Regions from separate parts of the Homo sapiens genome. Here regions 2, 3 and 4 are each linked to region 1. Evidence: promoter capture Hi-C in 16 types of primary human blood cells and fetal thymus (Javierre and others, 2016). All regions are on one chromosome and are shown on one strand. Each heading gives the region's core, a stretch centred on a gene start or on the middle of the fragment in contact. The rest is flanking DNA. Distances are from core to core; before and after follow the strand shown.

The links. The method cuts DNA at HindIII sites, captures the fragments that hold promoters and counts their contacts. A CHiCAGO score of 5 or more calls a contact.
Region 2: a contact is called between a fragment that was not itself captured here and the fragment with the promoter of REST in region 1, in 10 of 17 cell types (total B cells, total CD8 T cells, non-activated CD4 T cells and 7 more). The highest score is 12.6, in total B cells.
Region 3: a contact is called between a fragment that was not itself captured here and the fragment with the promoter of REST in region 1, in 4 of 17 cell types (non-activated CD4 T cells, total B cells, total CD4 T cells and 1 more). The highest score is 6.2, in non-activated CD4 T cells.
Region 4: a fragment that was not itself captured here is called in contact with the fragment with the promoter of REST in region 1 in 4 of 17 cell types (naive CD4 T cells, naive CD8 T cells, total CD4 T cells and 1 more); the score reaches 7.0 in naive CD4 T cells.

Annotation. Positions count from the first base shown.
Region 1 is chr4:56,906,252-56,909,412 of GRCh38, forward strand. REST (RE1 silencing transcription factor) reads left to right here and starts at 1,649. Exons shown (of 4, transcript NM_005612.5): 1 at 1,649-1,962. RefSeq lists enhancers at 1,106-2,035, 2,966-3,161 and silencers at 1,132-1,426, 1,526-1,915, 2,026-2,875. The HindIII fragment of the contact is 2,443 bases long and covers 1,194-3,161 here.
Region 2 is chr4:55,865,355-55,868,515 of GRCh38, forward strand. It overlaps EXOC1 (exocyst complex component 1), which reads left to right. Exons shown (of 19, transcript NM_001024924.2): 5 at 2,982-3,161. Among named protein-coding and RNA genes, the nearest start is that of EXOC1, 13 kb to the left of the region's middle. The HindIII fragment of the contact is 1,036 bases long and covers 1,136-2,171 here.
Region 3 is chr4:55,882,011-55,885,171 of GRCh38, forward strand. It overlaps EXOC1 (exocyst complex component 1), which reads left to right. Exons shown (of 19, transcript NM_001024924.2): 10 at 1,813-1,918. Among named protein-coding and RNA genes, the nearest start is that of EXOC1, 30 kb to the left of the region's middle. The HindIII fragment of the contact is 559 bases long and covers 1,363-1,921 here.
Region 4 is chr4:55,900,788-55,903,948 of GRCh38, forward strand. EXOC1 (exocyst complex component 1) reads left to right here. Exons shown (of 19, transcript NM_001024924.2): 18 at 1,557-1,751. EXOC1-AS1 (EXOC1 antisense RNA 1) reads right to left here. Exons shown (of 5, transcript XR_941069.4): 4 at 263-367. Among named protein-coding and RNA genes, the nearest start is that of EXOC1-AS1, 46 kb to the right of the region's middle. The HindIII fragment of the contact is 2,674 bases long and covers 244-2,917 here.

The sequences.
Region 1 (3,161 bases), core at 399-2,898:
ATGTGACCTCAAACTTGATTTTAGTTAAACAAATAAAATATATATAGAAAAGTTTGTACCAGTCCTAAAAATGTCGATCTTCCTTTCCTCCCTCCCTCCCTCCCTTCCTTCCTGTCTCTTTGGTTCAATGAAAATGAATACTTTTCAGGTTTGATTCATGGAGAGGTGTTACATTTGAAATTGCCTCATTGAAACTTTTGGTGGTCGAGCACCTTAGGGTCTTCATTTCATCTTGCATCGGAGACTGCATTAATTAGTAATATATTGTCCAGATAGAGGGAAACAGAGGTCCTACGTGGGTATACCAGGAAATGAAGAGTCTGGAAGCCCTGCCCTAAGAGAAACAAATAAAGGAACTTCAAAGAGAAGGAAGTGAGGTACCCTGAGGAGAAGCTGGGATGTCTTAACAACTGCTTTGGGATTTTGAGCTTGCCCTTTTCACTGTGTAGAGTGTTCCTTGCCCTACTTTCCACCTGTTGAAGTTTTCCTCATTCTCCAAGGTCAGACTGAATACATCTACTGTGAAAAGTTTCTAGAACCTCTTGGGATCCATCTTCCTACTGGCAAACCCCCATAGCACTTGCTACTTATGTTGTAATACCAAGCAATAGTCAGACTTATCTAGGTCAAGTTAAGTAGGGGCTTGAACGCCACACTAAGGGGTTTAAGCTTTAAGCTTGTAGTCATGGGGAGCCACTATGCTTCTGAGGACAGGTGTGACTTACGACTGACGTTTAGGAAGGTATCAAAGGCAGACTGAGAAGCTCTTTCAGGTGTGAAAGGGGGTGGAATTACTCTCTCTCTGTTCTTTTTTGTTGTTTTTGTTTTTGTTAGCACATGACTATGGGCTAGGCATTCCGCTTGGTTATCCCGCTTCATAGACGTGAGCCCGGTTACTCCGACACACCGTGGCCCCAGGCAGCCTCCCCGTCCTCACCACCTTTTCTTCTGTCATCTGAGGGTAATTCCTCCCCTGCAGTCGTGCTTTCCGGGCTCAGCAATGACCTGCTACCTGCCACGTCTAGGGATCTGTCCCCTCAGTCCTCACGCTCACGCTTTCTGAGTCCATAACCTCCTTCCTGAAACGTTTTCTTCTCACTTCTCCCAAACTGACTGCATTCCCCCTCCGGTAGTTTGAAATTTGGAAGACTTTTTTTTTTTTTTTTTTTTTTTACCGCAGACGCTTAAAACGAAGCTTAATTAGTCAAGGACAGCTATGGGTGGAGACTTGAAGAGATCTGAAGGGTATCTTGGAGCGCTTTAGACTTGAGAGGCCGGTGACAATAGCTCTAAAGAGACCCGTCAAAGCCTGCGGATTCTTCTTTTAACAGCTCTATTCTCATGCATGCACGCCAGGGCTGGGGGGAACTTTTGTTGTTTGTTTGTAATAGAAATCGAGAAAGGGAGTGGGGCCCGCCTCTTTTCTGACCTAAGGGCAGGAGTGAGGGGCCGGGAGGATTACGGGCGGCTCCCCCTAGACGCGCCCCCAGGCGAGCTGGAGACTGGGGCACTCCTTGCTTGGTAGAGGGGCGGGGCGCGCCTAGCGGCCACGCGCGCGGGCGTCGGAGGGGGCGTGTCTCGCGGGCGCGCGCGGGCGTCGGAGGGGGCGTGTCCCGCGGGCGGTGGCGGCGGCGGCGGCGCGGACTGGGTGCGCGGCGCAGCGTCCTGTGTTGGAATGTGCGGCTGCCGCGAGCTCGCGGCGCAGCAGCGGAGCGAGCGCCGCCGAGGCCCGGGGCCCCAGACCCTGGCGGCGGCTGCCGCAGCCGAGACGGCAGGGCGAGGCCCGGAGGCCTGAGCACCCTCTGCAGCCCCACTCCTGGGCCTTCTTGGTCCACGACGGCCCCAGCACCCAACTTTACCACCCTCCCCCACCTCTCCCCCGAAACTCCAGCAACAAAGAAAAGTAGTCGGAGAAGGAGCGGCGACTCAGGGTCGCCCGCCCCTCCTCACCGAGGAAGGCCGGTAAGTGGGGCGCTGGGCTGGGGGCTCGGTCAGGGTGGGGGAGGGCCGCCCGGGCGGCGGCAGTGGCGGGACGGGGAGGGCGCGGAAGGACGCGGAGTCAGGCGCTGTCCAGGGCTGATTTGCAGATACTGTGGCTCCGGCGGCGGCGGCCCCGCCGGGCGGGGGCTGGCGGCCGAGCAGGATCGGGTTACACAGCAGCCGCCCGGGGGCTGGGGGCGTTTGTTGGGAGCAGCGCGTCGCCTGGACCCCCTCCCCACTGGAGGCTGGGACGCCGCCTCCGCGCTGGCCCGGACGCTCCACCGAGTCAGGTCCTTTGAGGCCAAGGAGCGGAGCTGCTCGGGCCCGTAGTCCTGAAACTTCCTCTGCTTCCTCCTCCTGCCCCCGGGTCCCACCGCAGCCCCGCGCCGGCCCGCGGCCCTCCTGGCCCCCTCCCCCAGGGCCTCTCCCTGTCGCCGGAAGGCGCCGTTGAGTGCGGCCGGGCGGGTTGAGTCAGCCCCGGGGCCCGGGCGGTTCCGCCTGCGGGGCTGGACAGCGATTTCTGCGCTTCAGCCGTCCGGCGCCGCTGGCCCCCGCGTCCGGCCACCCGACCGCTGGAGCTGGCGGGGCTGGGGCGCGCGTCCTGCCGGGCGCCGTGGGGGAGTGAAGTTCGCAAACTTCCGGGGCGCGGGGGTGGCGGCTGGCCCGTGTGGGGGCCCCCTCCGGCGCTCGGAGCCCGACGCCTCGCGAGGGCGCCCGCGGAGCCTCCCCGGCCCTGGGCGTTGGGCGAGCCCCGGGGCGGTCGGAGGGGCCCGGGGGCGGTCGGAGAAGCCCGGACGCCGGCTGCGCGGTAACTTTCCGTCCTCTCCCGGGACGGGGGCCCTAGGGCTGGGGAGGGGGCTGCCTGGACTCGGGGAGGACTGGTTCCGGCCAAACAGCGCCTCGAGCTTGATCCCCTCCCCCGTTTTAGTGTTGGAGAGCGCAGGAAAAGGCTCAGGACGAGTGTCGGGGCGACTCCCGCGAGTTGGTGTGTAAATGTGTGCAGTGAGCGGGCCGAGGCGAGAGGAAGCGAGAGCGCCCGAGTTTGCAAAGAGCTGCTTTGTGTTTGGTATTTTGAGAAAATGGCCGAATGCCTATTTCAGTTAGGAATGCCGCCGCCGAGGCAGGCGCTGGTGGCAGCAGCACGGAGGAATTCGTGCAGCACGTTGGGCTTTCGGGCTGTG
Region 2 (3,161 bases), core at 404-2,903, 1.0 Mb before region 1:
TGCTGCTGATTTTAGGCTTGATGCTTGGCACTGGCAGAAACAAGTCACATATGTCAGCCACCAGTAGTGCTGGTCTTATGTAGGAATCCCCAGGGTTGCCATCTCACCAACACTAGTCCCCAACATCTTGGTAATTGAGTGTGTAGAGGGAATGACCTTCAAGAAATTTATGGTAACTTTTCATGCCTTGAATCGTGGTTTAATTTGCTTCGAATGGCTTTTATTTTTTTTAACATTTCAGGGTTGAACATTCTGATGAGTCAGTGATTCAGTGATTCACAAGCTTGCTGTTCTGTCTTCAAATATTATGCATTTCCAGATGTTATTTATTGTGTAAGGTGATTTTAAACCAGTATATTTCAGGACAGTCATATAGAAAAATACATACCCTACCTGGATCTGCCTCATTAAGAAATACTACCAAAATCAGTGAGAAGAGTATTACTGTTTTTGAAAATGAAGTGTCTAACTTAAAAAAAAAAAGGCATTCAATTTTTCAGGCCATAAAACAAGAGTATAGACACGTTCATGTGTATAAACATTAACCCTAACTGAGATCGATTTTAAGAATACTGAGAAGATCCTTAAGGATCTCATTTTGAAAATCACTTGCTATATACGTCAGTAACTCTTGCTTTGGTTTAGTGGAGTTCAGGGAATAGCTTCATTAATGTCTACAAACTTGTTTTATGGACCTTGAAATTACAGCCTTTAATTCCCATTAAAAAAAAATGTCTCTAAGTTTTGAGTGATGTTAGAAAACAAATAAAAAATTATTACCACCCCAGTTTAAGAGCTCAATAATTAAGTAAGACTATTTTGATTATAAATGGTAGCAGTGGCAACTTGGTAGTTTTTATTGTTGACAATTGAATACGTAAGTTAAATAATGGGGCTCCTCAGCAGAATAAGGTTTGTAAAAGAGGACTTTTCAGCAGTTGAAGTAGATTGAAGTTTTTATTTGGCCTTTTTTTTCATTCTTTTACTTGCAACCAGCTTTTTAAAAAAGAATCTTTGACTTGAATCCTTAAATGCTGGCTTGAACTGTTATTTTGTGTAATTTTTTACTTGCCTCAATCTTGTCCTTTCTAACCATGTTTTGTGACTAATCCTCTGTGAGGGAGTGTCTGGGTAAAGCTTTTGGGCCTTAAGTAACATAACTAGGCTACATGCATGAGTCACAACTGACCTAAATATAATCCCCAGGAAATGATTAGTTTGCCAGGTTTCTCCTCTAAGGGTTAGTTAGTGCTGTTTCTTAAAAGACTAAGAGAAATTAGAAAGATAAATATATTTGTAGTCACTATCAGAAAGTGAATAAGAAAAATGAACACGGCAAATTTAGCTTCTTATGGATCTTTCCACTTGGTAGTTGATTTGGCTGTCTTTTGAACTTTAACATGAAGTTCAAATGAGATATGGGTAGTATTTTAAAAATTTAAGCCTGTTTACTTTTCTACCCAGCTAATATTCTTTGCTTACTTTCCTCTGCTTTTTTCATACTTTTTACTCTCCAGAACTGCCTAAAGTTACAGAAGGTGCGTAACACCTTTTCTTCTTCTATTCCATATGTTTTTATTAGTTGCCTTTGTTATATACCGTTGGTTGTATGTTTTATGAAATGATGTACTGGGACAAATTTATTTTAAAAATCTACATAGTAATAAAATTAATGATAGTATTTATTATTGGCTTTCAAGGACATATCATTAGAAAATACTTCTGAAGCAGTTAATTATAATCATGTAAAATATTTGTTTAAGTCTACTTGTGTAAGGACCTGTACAGAATGATTTGGGCAGTCCCTGCCCCCTAGTGGCTAATAAGCTGTCACACATGACAGTTGAACTTTTTCGCAGTGAATTAAATGGACTCGTTGAAAGGACAAGGAGATCGGTAATATCTCTCTAAAGAACTTATATACTAAAATCTGTAATTGCCTGTACCAAAAGTTTTAGTCTTCTTTTTGTTCTGGGACAAATGAACGTATTTCAGGTCATGCTGAATGTAAATATTCATTTTCCTATAAAATAATGAATACTAAAAGCATCCAGAGTTTGTGGTTTAAATCATGCCCCATTAAGTCTGTGAAATTGCTAACTTTATTTAGAGTGATAAAACAACATCTTAGGAGTTAAAAATGATTTCTTTCATTTTACCTCCTAACCTCAAGCTTTATATACAGTGCTCACATGCTAGTGTATTTCCTCAAAAAAAAAAAAAAAATGAACTGAAACATCTAGAAAGCATTTCAGGTTTGACCTCTTGGTCTTTTGTTATAAAGCATGAAGCCTGTTTAACTTTTTATAATTTCAAACAGCCATGTTGTTGTTGCTCTTACTTAGAGTTATTGAGAAAGCTGTAACTTATCTTTAGAAATGTTATCAATGCATGTGAAATTTTTTTAAGCAAAGAAATGGATAATTCAGTTAATATTCTAGTGACCAAAATAAATTATGGATTATAGATGCATTTTTCATTTTAATTAAAAAGTATTTGGCAAAAATATACATACTGAAGATGAAAGTAACAAAAGTAACAAAAGAAAAATTTCACCTGGGAAAAAAAGGAAAGCAAATTGTTTTTGTGTGTACTGAATTCATAGTCATTGTTTTGTTAGAGCAACAGCCACATCAGGTACGAAAAAATGTTTAGGTTTGTTCCCACCTGTTTTTGTATTTTGTTTTTACATTTTAGCTTAATTGTATTTTGGGAAACTGTGGTGAAAGCCTGTTTTAACATTTGTAAGTTAGTGCATTAGACTGCATGCTTTTTATTTATTTTTTAGAACTTTATTTCATTAACATATTAAATTATTTATAAAAATAAAGTTTGATTTTTTCATATCATTTGAATCATTCTATCCTCTTTTTCAGCTGCTAAATGTGACCTGTGCTTATAACTATACCTACCTATATGTATTATGTTATAGTCTTTTCTACTTTTTTGACTATTTTACTTTGAATTTTTACCTCTTTAAGAATCTGTTCCAAGTGGAGAAAATCAGAGTGTGACAGGAGGTGATGAAGAAGTAGTAGATGAATACCAAGAGTTAAATGCAAGAGAAGAACAGGATATCGAAATAATGATGGAAGGCTGTGAATATGCAATCTCGAATGCGGAAGCCTTTGCAGAAAAATTGTCCAGAGAGCTGCAGGTGC
Region 3 (3,161 bases), core at 392-2,891, 1.0 Mb before region 1:
AGGAAAAAAAAATCAGAGAGCCAGTAGAGAAGATGGTGAACTAGCATTCTAAAGTACCATCTTAAAATTTAAAACTTACCATAGGGTTTTTGTTGTTGTTGTTGTTGTATTGTGTTTTGTTTTGTTTTTGTTTTCGTTTTTGTTTTTTTAGGCAGGGTCTCACTCTGACACCCAGGCTGGAATGCAGTGATGTGATCACAGCTCACTGCAGCCTCAACTTCCTGGGCTCAAGCAGTCCTTCTGCCTCAGCCTCCTGAGTAGCTGGGACTACAGGCATGTGCCACCGCTCCCGGCTAATTTTGCATTTTCTGTAGATACAGGGTTTCACCATGTTGCCCAGGCTGGCATCATAGAGTTTTGGAGAGACACTGATACAGTAAAACCTTCCTGTGGTCTTTCCTATCAGTCAGTTCTGTTGAGTGCCAGGAAAAAAGGTATCTAAGTCATTTGAGTCCCACTGAAAAAGTAATACATCCCAATGAAATAGGAATTTTAATTTATATTTGCTTTTAAAGTTATACAAAGATCATGGGAAATAATTGCCCATTTGACTAACTGTTCTTACATTAGATACAGAGATATGTGAAAAATGTATATGGCATACAAATTGAAAAAGGACAGGATCTATATATATTATGTTTGGTCCAAATGCTATTTTATAAGAATACAGCTATAAAATATTTTAAGACAATCAATGGTAAACTGTGAATCAATATACAAATATTTACACAACATGTACCTTTTGGAAGGTATACCTGATCTTTAAAGCAGGTAAACATGTTCTAAAAATTGACACATTAATTTGAAATAATATAGGAAATTGAAGCTTAGATTTTATGATAAACTTAAAAGAATAGGTACAACTTTTCTGCTTTATTTAAATTTTATTTTCTGGTTTATTTAAATTTAGTCAAATTCTGTTTGTGGCATTTAACTTCATACTTGGAAAAATATACAGTCTCCCACTGTTGAGGAACTCTTCTGGAGAGTATATTTTTATGTGATAATAAGTAGAGATGATGAAGAAATGATTTTTGTATGCCAAAGGATACAAAAATGTTTTTATTTAAGCGAGAATTAATCAAATCTGTTTTAAGAAAATTAATTACTTGATTTTGAAAACTGTAAGATATACTAATGAAGTTCTTATGGAAAATAACCTATTTTGGAGTAATATCCCAAGCTGGCAGAGGCTCAGTGAAACTAAATATTCTTAAGTGCCATTGACACTATTTATTATTGGTCTGTTTTTAAAGCAACATGACAATATAGAGGAAGAGCAATTAAGATTCCCATACACTTTGACCCTGTTATTCCATCCTTAAGAAATTATTTCAAAGAAATAGTTCATTAGAGATGAAAAGCTTATTGTAACATTGTCTATCATAGCAAAACATGGAAACCACTTCATTGTCCTGTGTTAGGGGATTGGTTTACTTAATGGTGCTACACCAACAAAACTGAATACTGTGCTGTCATTAAAATGTGAGACTGGAGAAATGTATTTGTTCTGATTTAGATATTCTGTATAGTGTGATTACAGTGATATTTAAAATATGCAAAAGGTAATATAGAAAAATGAAAATATAAATATGGTTATGTTTGACTTCATATTTTTGTAAATTGTTAATGTTATGATGCCTATTCAATTGTTTTTTAAGACAGAAAGTAACCTATTTTTATATCCTGTGAAATACATCAAAGTTTTGGACTATGAAATTTAAAACAAGCATGAAGGACTTGGGGAATTGAAAAATTGAAATTGTTATATGTGTTTTATTAATAAGAAGTACATGTTACTTTTATTTTAAGAATTACATGGATTATTTATCCCGACTATATGAAAGAGAAATCAAAGATTTCTTTGAAGTTGCAAAGATCAAGATGACTGGCACAACTAAAGAAAGCAAGAAGTTTGGTAAGCTTAGGCATGTCAGTTCATTATCTTCCTATTAAAAATGGCTTTATTTATAACAAATAATTCTAAGACTTCTTAAGCAAGGTGGAGGTAGATCCAGCAGAATTTATGAAAAAAGAGGTCTAAAACGTTGGCTTGATTTATAGCCGTTTCATAGAACAAATATGTATATCTGTAAATTTTCTTTAATTAAAATTCTGCAGTATGTGACTGTGACAGCGATTGTGTATTCATGCTGTAATCAAATATATATATTCATAAGAACAGCAGTTGGTGAGAAAATGAAGTGCAGTCAAGTAGAGAAAGTACTAGACTGAGAGACAGATGTTGGGAGTTCAGTTTAACTGATTCCCTAAAAGACTTTTTATAACAGTTGGGGGCAAGTCACTAATCTCTTAAGTCATTGCTCTCCACATAGAAATGAAACTGGTTCCTGGCTTCTTACTTCTCACTGGCTATTTTGAATCAAAAAGAAAGTTTAAATATTTTCTCCCCTGCCAAAGGGCTATAAAACTGTCACCAAACATTCTCATGTTATTTTACCTTATTTTTCTAAAGAGATGCTTTGATGCATGTTAATTTTTGTTGTTTATAAGTATTTTAAATGGACAAAAACATTATTTGAAAGAATAGCCAGTGACAGTATCAAGTTATGAGGAAGGTGATTTGCCGAGGCCACATTCTGCTCTTGCATGTATCCATCTCTGGAGTTCCTTTTGGATGGAGTTTTGTGCCTATTCAAGTCAAAACCTGGCCTTAAATGGCCACATTGTGTACTCCTCAGTGTGTCTGCATAGCTCCCCTTTAGAATAATGAGTTTAGCATTTGCCTGTTGAAAGGAGCCTATGCCCTAAGCAACTTCAGTAATCAAGAAACATGATTCAAAACTGATAGTACATGTTTCCATTCTTTTCTGTAGGACAGAGAAGACTGTCATTAATGGGTAATTATTCTGTAACTCACTGTTTTTAAAAAAATGCAACACTAATATATTGATTATACTAGTCCAGACATTTGAAATGGTTTGAATTTGTCTGTAAATATGCTACACTTTACAGATACTGATAAGAATCTTGGGACAGTAGGCTTTCGGAAACAGAAATGCTAACTCATCCTAAAGGTTAATTGTTCTTAAACAGCAGTGTGTTTATATCCCTGTTAATGTTTCACTGTGGATATGTTATGCTTTTTTTTTTGAGTAAACAGCATATTATTAATGCAGTTACATGTTTAATGTTTTCAT
Region 4 (3,161 bases), core at 331-2,830, 1.0 Mb before region 1:
GAATCACTTGATCCTAGGAGGTGGTGGTTGCAATGAGTGGAGATCACACCACTGCGCTCCAGCCTGGGCGACAGAGCAAGACTCAGTCTCAAAACAAAACAAAAAAAAAGAATATGTATCTGCTGTCAACAATTCAAAGAAATACTTGAAAGACATTTAATCAAATGCAGAACTAATTCCTTATAAAACTTAAGAACAGACAAATATTCCTTTAACTGGATAAAAGATCTATCTCAGGCCTAAAGCTTACATGATACTTAACTGCAACGTTAGAGACATTCCCTCTGAAATCAATTTAAAGCAGAAATATTGTTAGATCCTTTATTATTTAGCATTGTTGTTGAAGCACTAGCCAGTTCAACAAGACCTGAAACATAAATAAGAGATATGGAAAACAGAGACGAGATTATCACCACCTGTATATGATATGTTGAAATTACTGGTGTTGGTCAAGTGACAAAATTTAAAGCAAATATACTGAAAAACAATGTATTTCCTGTCTACCAATTAAGAGCTTATGTAAAAACAAAATTTTTAAAGCACTAAGAATAACTTCTCAAAGAATGATAATTTAATGAATAATCACTAAGAAAATTTTAGAAAAAAGTAATGAGAGGGAATGGGGTTTGTCAGCATTAATTCTTTGTATCGTGCTCAAATACAGTTATGCCAGTCAATAAAAGTATATATATAAAAGAAGACCTGGGAATAATAGTTACAATAATATAACAGAGTCAGTATATTTAATATAAAAAATCTTACTAAAATCAATAAGAAAAGCACTAAGACCCCAATTTATAAATGGGGCAAGGGGCTGAATCACTACTAAACATATAAAAGCAGGTTAACCTTATTTATAGCCAAAGAATTATAAAATAAAATGACAAACTTTTTTTACTCTGGCAACTATTGTTATAAATTGTCATAATGCTTATGATGGTATAGTGAAGTAGCAACCTCATACACTGTTGACAGAAATATAAATTGGTTGAGCTTTCCTAGGAAGCAGTTTGTATATATACTGAAGAATCTTTCAAATACTTAAAGTTATGCTCTTCAACAGAGTAATTATAGTCCTGGAAATTTAATCAGTAAGATGGGTAAATACTTATATACAAAAAAAATTTATGACAAATATATTTATAGTAGATTTTCTAAAGTCTCACTAGATTTGCCAAGTCCAAAAAAAGAAGGGGGAGTGGGATGTTAAATATCTAGTACTAGAGGAATGAATAATAATTGTGGTTCAGTCATTGTGTGAAATATTATGCAGCCATTAAAATTTATATTTAGGAAAAAACAATATTAAATGTAAAGTGGGACATGAAATTTTAATCTCCTGTATGTATTCACACATCAAAAGATTACAAGGAACTCTACAATATTAACAATGTTCATCTCAGAAGTATGTTAATAAGTGATTGTTATTTTATTGTTTATACTTTCACACACTGATTTTTGCATGGTGATTATACACTACTTTGTAATCAGATTTTTTTAATGTAAATAATAATAAATGCAGGTCTTAGCCATTGTTTCTTTTCATTTCCTTGAAGCATTTCTTTGAAGGTGTTGAAGCTCGCGTGGCACAGGGCATAAGGGAGGAGGAAGTAAGTTACCAACTTGCATTTAACAAACAAGAACTTCGTAAAGTCATTAAGGAGTACCCTGGAAAGGAAGTAAAAAAAGGTCTAGATAACCTCTACAAGAAAGTTGATAAACATTTATGTGAAGAAGAGAACTTACTTCAGGTATGCTTACTTCTTTTGACCATCTGACTTAAAGATCCTTACATATATTGCTTTTCTTTAAATAATTTTCTAGAAATGCTACAGATCTAGAGCAGGAGGAGAGTTCCATTAGAGTACAGACCAGATTAATGAATTGTGAGGAAGAAAGGAATACTGTTTATATAAGCATATATGGCTATTTCTGCTTATTTCGTATTTCTGCTATATTATGGTGAGGCATTAAGTTTGTTTTTCTTTGGTTGGTTGGTTGGTTGGTTGGTTGGTTGGTTGAGTGGTTGGAATTAGAGATGGGTTCATAATCTGGCTCCAGATTAAGCTGTGTGACTTTGGGAAGTTACTTAACCTCTCTGAGCCTTAGTTTCCTTATTTGATAAGTGGAAACGATACATCTCTTGTACAGTAGCCACTGTATTGGGCAACATAGCAAGACCTTGTCTCTACTAAAAATTAAAAAAATTAGCTGGGCATGGTGGCACGTGCCTGTAGTCCCAGCTACTCGGGAAGCTGAGGCAGGAGGATCACTTGAGCCCAGGAGATTGAGGCTCCAGTGAACTATGATCCTACCACTGCACTCCAGCCTACGCAACAGAGTGAGGCCGTGTCTCAATTAAAAAAAAAAAAAAAAAGAAAGAAAGAAAGAAAAAGAAAGAAAGAGAAAGAAAGAAAATCAGCTTAGAGAGGTGGAGTAATAGGACCAAGCTCTCTTAACTAATGGGTAGTGGAGCCAGATTTAAAGTCCAAATTAGGCCATTATTCTTTATAAACCATATTGAAAGGCCCAGATATGAGTGAGAGTAATTCTGATTTCAACATCATGGAAGACTTCCTGAGGGATATTGCATTGTTTGTTTTAACCTCTGAAAGTCAGATGTACTTGAACAGGCAAAGTGGGGATGGAGGGAGTAGCATTCTAGAAAGAAATAATATGAGCTAAACGATGAAAAGTAAAAAGCATAACACTGCTTAGGGAATAGCGATTGGTCTTAAGTTGGCAGGAATTTAGGATTTATGAGATTTAGGATTTACAAGAAAAAATCTTGGAAGAATACATTCCCTCAGCTGTCAAATAGGGAAGATGATCATAATACCCACCCTCACCAGGTCATCATGAGACTTAATACTATAATATATTCATAAAGTGCTTTGTACTGTGCTGATAAAGAGTAAGCTTCAATTAATGTAATCTATTTAAGCCATTATGTCAATGTGTGTATCACATTGTGTCTTGGTAATTGTCTACATATTAGCCTCCACTGTTAGATTATAAATCACATGATTGCAGATAATGGGTCTGAGTCATTTTGCTGTCCTCCAAGGCATCAAGCAAGGTTTTGCATCAACAATTTTAGATAAAGAAAACTTTAAATGTTATAGGAAATGAAATTAAAGCATTACATTTTATGTAATCAC